Regions from separate parts of the Homo sapiens genome. Here region 2 is linked to region 1. The links are contacts of gene promoters, found by promoter capture Hi-C in blood cells and fetal thymus (Javierre and others, 2016). All regions are on one chromosome and are shown on one strand. Each heading gives the region's core, a stretch centred on a gene start or on the middle of the fragment in contact. The rest is flanking DNA. Distances are from core to core; before and after follow the strand shown. Region 1 holds the start of NEK9 (NIMA related kinase 9). Region 2 has its middle 42 kb from the start of JDP2-AS1.

The links. Contacts are between HindIII fragments. The CHiCAGO score rates a contact against its expected background, and 5 or more counts as called.
Region 2: a fragment that was not itself captured here is called in contact with the fragment with the promoter of NEK9 in region 1 in 1 of 17 cell types (monocytes); the score reaches 12.3 in monocytes.

What each region holds. Positions count from the first base shown.
Region 1 is chr14:75,125,483-75,128,334 of GRCh38, reverse strand. NEK9 (NIMA related kinase 9) reads left to right here and starts at 1,287. Exons shown (of 22, transcript NM_033116.6): 1 at 1,287-1,632. The coding sequence starts at 1,414. RefSeq lists enhancers at 1,234-1,363, 1,374-1,423. The HindIII fragment of the contact is 1,961 bases long and covers 190-2,150 here.
Region 2 is chr14:75,384,329-75,387,028 of GRCh38, reverse strand. No RefSeq gene overlaps it. Among named protein-coding and RNA genes, the nearest start is that of JDP2-AS1, 42 kb to the left of the region's middle. The HindIII fragment of the contact is 3,002 bases long and covers 1-2,700 here.

The DNA.
Region 1 (2,852 bases), core at 38-2,537:
ACTTAGGTACCTCTGTTTCTGTAAAATGGGAATGTTAGGATAATACATAATACATAATACATAGGATAATACATAATAATGTGAGATAATACGTAAAAAACCTTTAGCATAGTACCCAGAACATAACACTCAATAAATGTTAGCTGTTATGTCTGTGATGTAGACCACATTCTCACAACAAAACAAGCTTGGAGATGAGAAGTTGCCCAAGGTCACATAATTGCCCAAGGTCACATAACTGATGGAACACCTATTGTTCACCGTATTGCTGTTTTCCTACTTGACGGTAGGGAGAACATTATTGCAGATTTCCTGTTCCCAAACAGTGTGTGGCACCAAGTGCTCAAAGAATGTTTCATGATATCATATGGTCAAATATCTGGAAAAACACATAGAATAAATTGAATCTGGAAAAAGAGACGGGGGAGAAGGAAAGTGTCAGGAGAGTTGACTTAAAATATTTTTGGAGTTGTGTAGAAGAGGGAGGGACTTAGGATGGCCCTGGGAGAAAGAACTCGGCCCAGGGACCGAGATGACCGGAGGCAGACATTTAGGCTGTCTATATTATTATTATTTTTTTTTTTTTTGAGACAAAGTCTCGCTCTGTTATCCAGGCTGGAGTGTAGTGCGCGATCTCGGCTCGCTGCAACCTCCTCCTTCCGGGTTCAAGTGATTCACCTGCCTCAGCCTCTGGAGTAGCTGGGATTACAGGTGCCTGCCACCACGCCTGGCTAATTTTTGTATTTTATAGAGACGGGGTTTCACCAGTTGGTCAGGCTGGTCTCAAACGCCTGACCTCAGGTGATCCGCCCGCCTCGGCTTCCTAACATGCTGAGATTACAGGCGTGAGCCACCTTGCCCGGCCATATTATCTTTACTATACTATCTCTCTAAAAAAGAATGCTGTCCAACGTTGGAATGGGGAAGAAGGTGTACACTGGGAATGCTTCCCCAATCACCCTCTTGTCACAGACCTGACGTCAAGATGAGACTGGACGACCTCTGGGCCTCCAAGTTGTATGAGTCCGGACCGGGGAGGCAGAGAAGGGTCAATAGACCCGAGAGGCCGTACCGTCAGTGATGCCCTTGTTCCCGTGGGAGCCCTTCGGTTCCACGCGGTTCCCACCACGCGCCCGCCAACCCTAGCCCGAGGCCTCACTTTGCAGGCCTTCCCCGAAAGCGGGAAGCCTTGGCCGCTAGACTAGCCAAGAGGGTAAGCAAAGGCGGAGGAAACTCAGCCAGGCCGGAAACACAGAGAACTGTTTCCGGGTCGGGGGGCAGGAGCCACCATCGAGCTTCGCGGGGTTGCTGGGCTGACGGATCCGCGGGCCGGCATCTGAAGCGAGCGGGACGCAGCGCGGCCAGGGCCTCCGGGCATACGCAGGCTGGTCCCCAAGGCCCGCGGCCGCCGCCATGTCGGTGCTGGGCGAGTACGAGCGACACTGCGATTCCATCAACTCGGACTTTGGGAGCGAGTCCGGGGGTTGCGGGGACTCGAGTCCGGGGCCTAGCGCCAGTCAGGGGCCGCGAGCCGGCGGCGGCGCGGCGGAGCAGGAGGAACTGCACTACATCCCCATCCGCGTCCTGGGCCGCGGCGCCTTCGGGGAAGCCACGCTGTACCGCCGCACCGAGGTAGCGGCCCTCGGCGCCGGCCGCCCTGTCTGGCGCTGTCGGGTCGCCCCGAGTCCCTCCTTCTCGGCCCCGCTTTCCCAGCGTCGTGAGCTTAGTGCTTTAGGCGCCCACGGGGTATATGTCTTAGGGTCTTCACCACTCTTCCCACTCACCGGCACTAGAAATTGGCTAGATCATTGGTTTGACTAGTCATTTTTGATTGTCCTAAGTCACCTAACCGTCTCTTGAGCTTTAGTTTCCCCATCTGTAAAATGGGCTTACTGATAATACCTTGAAATCATCTTTTTCTTTTTTTTTTAAGATTATCTTGAGAATCAAACGAAGGCTCTGTTCTGTAAATTAAAGTGGTATACGAATGTGAGGTATTGCCAAAACTTCCTTCCTCTCATGCTGTATATATAGTTCTCCAAGGTCGGGGTGAGGAGGAGGGGCATAGCTTCAAAATCCCCACACCCGTGGCAACTCCGTTATTTTTGTCATTATCTTTAAGTTCAGCAGTGATCACTCAGTTGGAAGCTTTTCTTGAAGCTCATTGGGAAGATCTTTGTGTGTTGGTTCTTTATCAGTGTTTATCTTGCAGGGTTTATGCATGGGAAATACTTTGTTGGTATATTCTAAGCCATTAGTTCTTAATTTGGGGGGCACAAGGACCCCTTTGATAACCTAAGCAAAGTAATCTTGCCCCCTCCATCAACACATTTGCACATATGCACATCCTTTGGAGAGATCCATGGATCACGGAATCCCAAGTTAATATATACTAGTGTAAAACCCTGCAGTGATTATTCTACTTCCAAAAACTAACGATACACTAGATTTGATCATAAAATCTTACTTTAGGGTAAACATTTAATGAGAACTTGCTGGGGTTGCTGAAGGTGATTCATCCGTCGGAAATCCATCTGCAGTTCTGGTGTGTGTTCCAAGCCAGCATACTTTTAAGGCTGAAAGATGGAGAAGGAGAGAAGTGGTTGCAAGAGAATATTTTTAAGTGTTCTTTTTTATCCTGATGCCACGTTAATGTATGATGTTAGAGTTAGTTATTCTTAGTAGTCTGTTTTCTTTTTTGCACTCAAAATGAGAAAGAGGAGATAAGGATTGTTATTTCTATATTTTAGTTAGAGAAACTAAAACAGTATACTTAAGTGACTTGCTCACTTAAGTTACAAGTAAATCTTGGACTAGAACTAAAGTCTCACATCTTGCCCATTGCCTTTTTA
Region 2 (2,700 bases), core at 41-2,540, 260 kb before region 1:
ATTTTCCAGCCACCTTTCTGTTACTGATTTTTAGTTTAATTCCATTGTGGTCTGAGAACATACGTTGTATGATTTCTATTCTCTTAAGTGTGTTAAGGTGTGTTTTATGGCTCAGAATGTGGTCTGTCTTGGTGAATGTTCCATGTGAGTTTGGGAAGAATGTATACTCTGCTCTTGCTGCTTTGAATATTCTATAAATGTCAATGAAATCAAGTTGATTGGTAATTCTGATCAGGTCAACTATATCCTTACTGATTTTCTCCCTGCTTGATTTATCAATGACTGAAAGAGAGGTGTTGAAGTCTCCAATTATAGTAGTGCACTTGCCTAACTCTCCCATCAGCTCTGTCAATTTTTTTTTTTAAGATGGAGTTTTATTTGTTGCCCAGGCTGGAGTGCAGTGGCATGCTCTCAGTTCACTTCCACCTCCACCACCTGGGTTCAAGCGATTCTCCTGCCTCAGCCTCCTGAGTAGCTGGGATTACAGGCACCCACCACAACCCCCGCTAATTTGTGTATTTTTAGTAGAGATGGGGTTTCACCATGTTGGCCAGGCTAGTCTCCAACTCCTGACCTCAGGTGATCCATCCCTGTCAGCCTCCCAAAGTGCTGGGATTACAAGCGTGAACCATTGCGCCCATCCAGTTCTGTAAATTTTTGCATCACACATTTTGATGCTCTGTTGTTAGGTGCATACACATTATGGATTGTTATGTCCTTTTGGACAATTGGCCCGTTTATCAATGTGTGATTCCTCTGTTTAGTCCTGAGAATTTTCATTTTCCAAAGTCAGCTTTGTCTGAAGTTAATGGAACTACTCCAGCTTTGTTTTCTTAGTGTTACCATGGTGTGTCTTTCTCCACTCATTTACTTTTAACTTATCTGAATCATGATATTTAAGATGGGTTTCTTATAAGCAAAATATAGCTGTGTCTTGTTGTGTTATTTAGCCACTCTGATAATCTCTGTCTTTTAATTTGTATACTTAGACCAGTCACATTTAAAGTGATTATTGATATAGTTGGGTTAAATCTATCATGTTTGTAACTGTTTTCTATTCATTGTACTTATTCTTTGCTTCTTTTTCTTCTTCCCTGTTTTTCTTGCCTTCTCTGAGCATTATTTAATTGAGCATTTTATATGATTTCATTTTATCTGTTAGCATATCAATTATATTTCCTTTAAAATTTCTTTTAGTAGTTAGCCTAGAATTTGCAATATACAATTACAACTAATTTAAGTCACTTCAAATAAAACTATACTAATTCACATGTATTGTAGGTACCTTATAACAGAATTTCCAATTCCTCCTCTTCTCCCTTATAACATTGCTGTCATTCATTTCACTTATTCATATTCTATAATTTACCCAATAACTTATTATTTTGCTTTAAACAGTTATCTTTTAGATCAATTAAGAATAAAAATAATTTTTTTTTTGAGATGGAATCTCACTCTGTCGCCCAGGCTGGAGTACAGTGGCACAATCTCAGCTCACTGCAACCTCTGCCTCCTGGGTTCAAGCGATTCTCCTGCCTCAGCCTCCTGAGTAGCTGGGATTACAGGTGCATGCCACCACACCCGGCTAATTTTTGTATTTTTAGTAGAGATGGGGTTTCACCACGTTGGTCAGGCTGGTCTCGAACTCCTGACCTTGTGATCCACCCACCTCAGCCTCCCAAAGTGCTGGGATTACAGGCGTGAGCTACCACACCCGGCAAAAAAATAAACTTTTGTTTTACCTCCATTAATTTCTTCTCCAGTGCTCTTTCCTTCTTTATGTGGATCTGATCTTATATCACTAACCTTCTCCCTGGATTATTTTTTTAAAATTTCTTTCAGGGCAAATCTGCTGGCAATGATATCTTGTTTTTGTTTGAAAAGTCTTTATTTCTTCTTTATTTTTGAAGGATAATTTCACTGGATATAGAATTCTAGGTTGGTAGGGGTTCTTTCTCCAACATTTTAATATTTTACTACACTCTCCTCTTGCTTGCATGGTTTTTGACAAAAGATTCTCTGTAGGTATTATCCTTGTTTGTCTATAGGTAAAGGGGCTTTCCCCTCCAGGTTCTTTTAGGATTTTTCTCTTTGTCTTTGGTTTTCTGAAATTTGAATACAATTTTCCTAAGTGTAGATATTTTTGATATTTATCCTGCTTGATGTTCTCTCAACTCCCTGGATCTGAGGTTTGGTGTCTGTCACTAATTTGGACAGTTCTTGACCATTATTATTTCAAATATTTCTTTTGCTGTGTAATCTCCTTTAATTTCTGGCATTCCAATTATGTGTATGTTATATCTCTTGAAGTTATCCCACAGTTCTGGGGTTTCTGTTTTGTTTTGTTTGTTTCTCTTTTTTTCCTCTTCACATTTCAGTTTGAGAAATTTCTATTGACATATCTTTAAGCTCACTGATTCTTCCCTTAGCCAATTCATTCTACTAATGAGCCCATCAAAGGCATTCTTCATTTCTGTTGCAGTGTTTCTGATTTCTAGCTTTTCCTTTTAATTCTTTCTTAGAGTTTTCAGCTCTCTGCTTACATTACCATCTGCTCTACCATGTCGTATGCTTTTTCCAGTAGAGTTCCTAACATATTAGCTATTTTAAATCCCCTGTATGATAAATCCAAAATCTGTGTCATATCTGAATCTGTTTCTGCTGCTTACTTTGTCTTTTCAGACTGTACTTTTATTACCT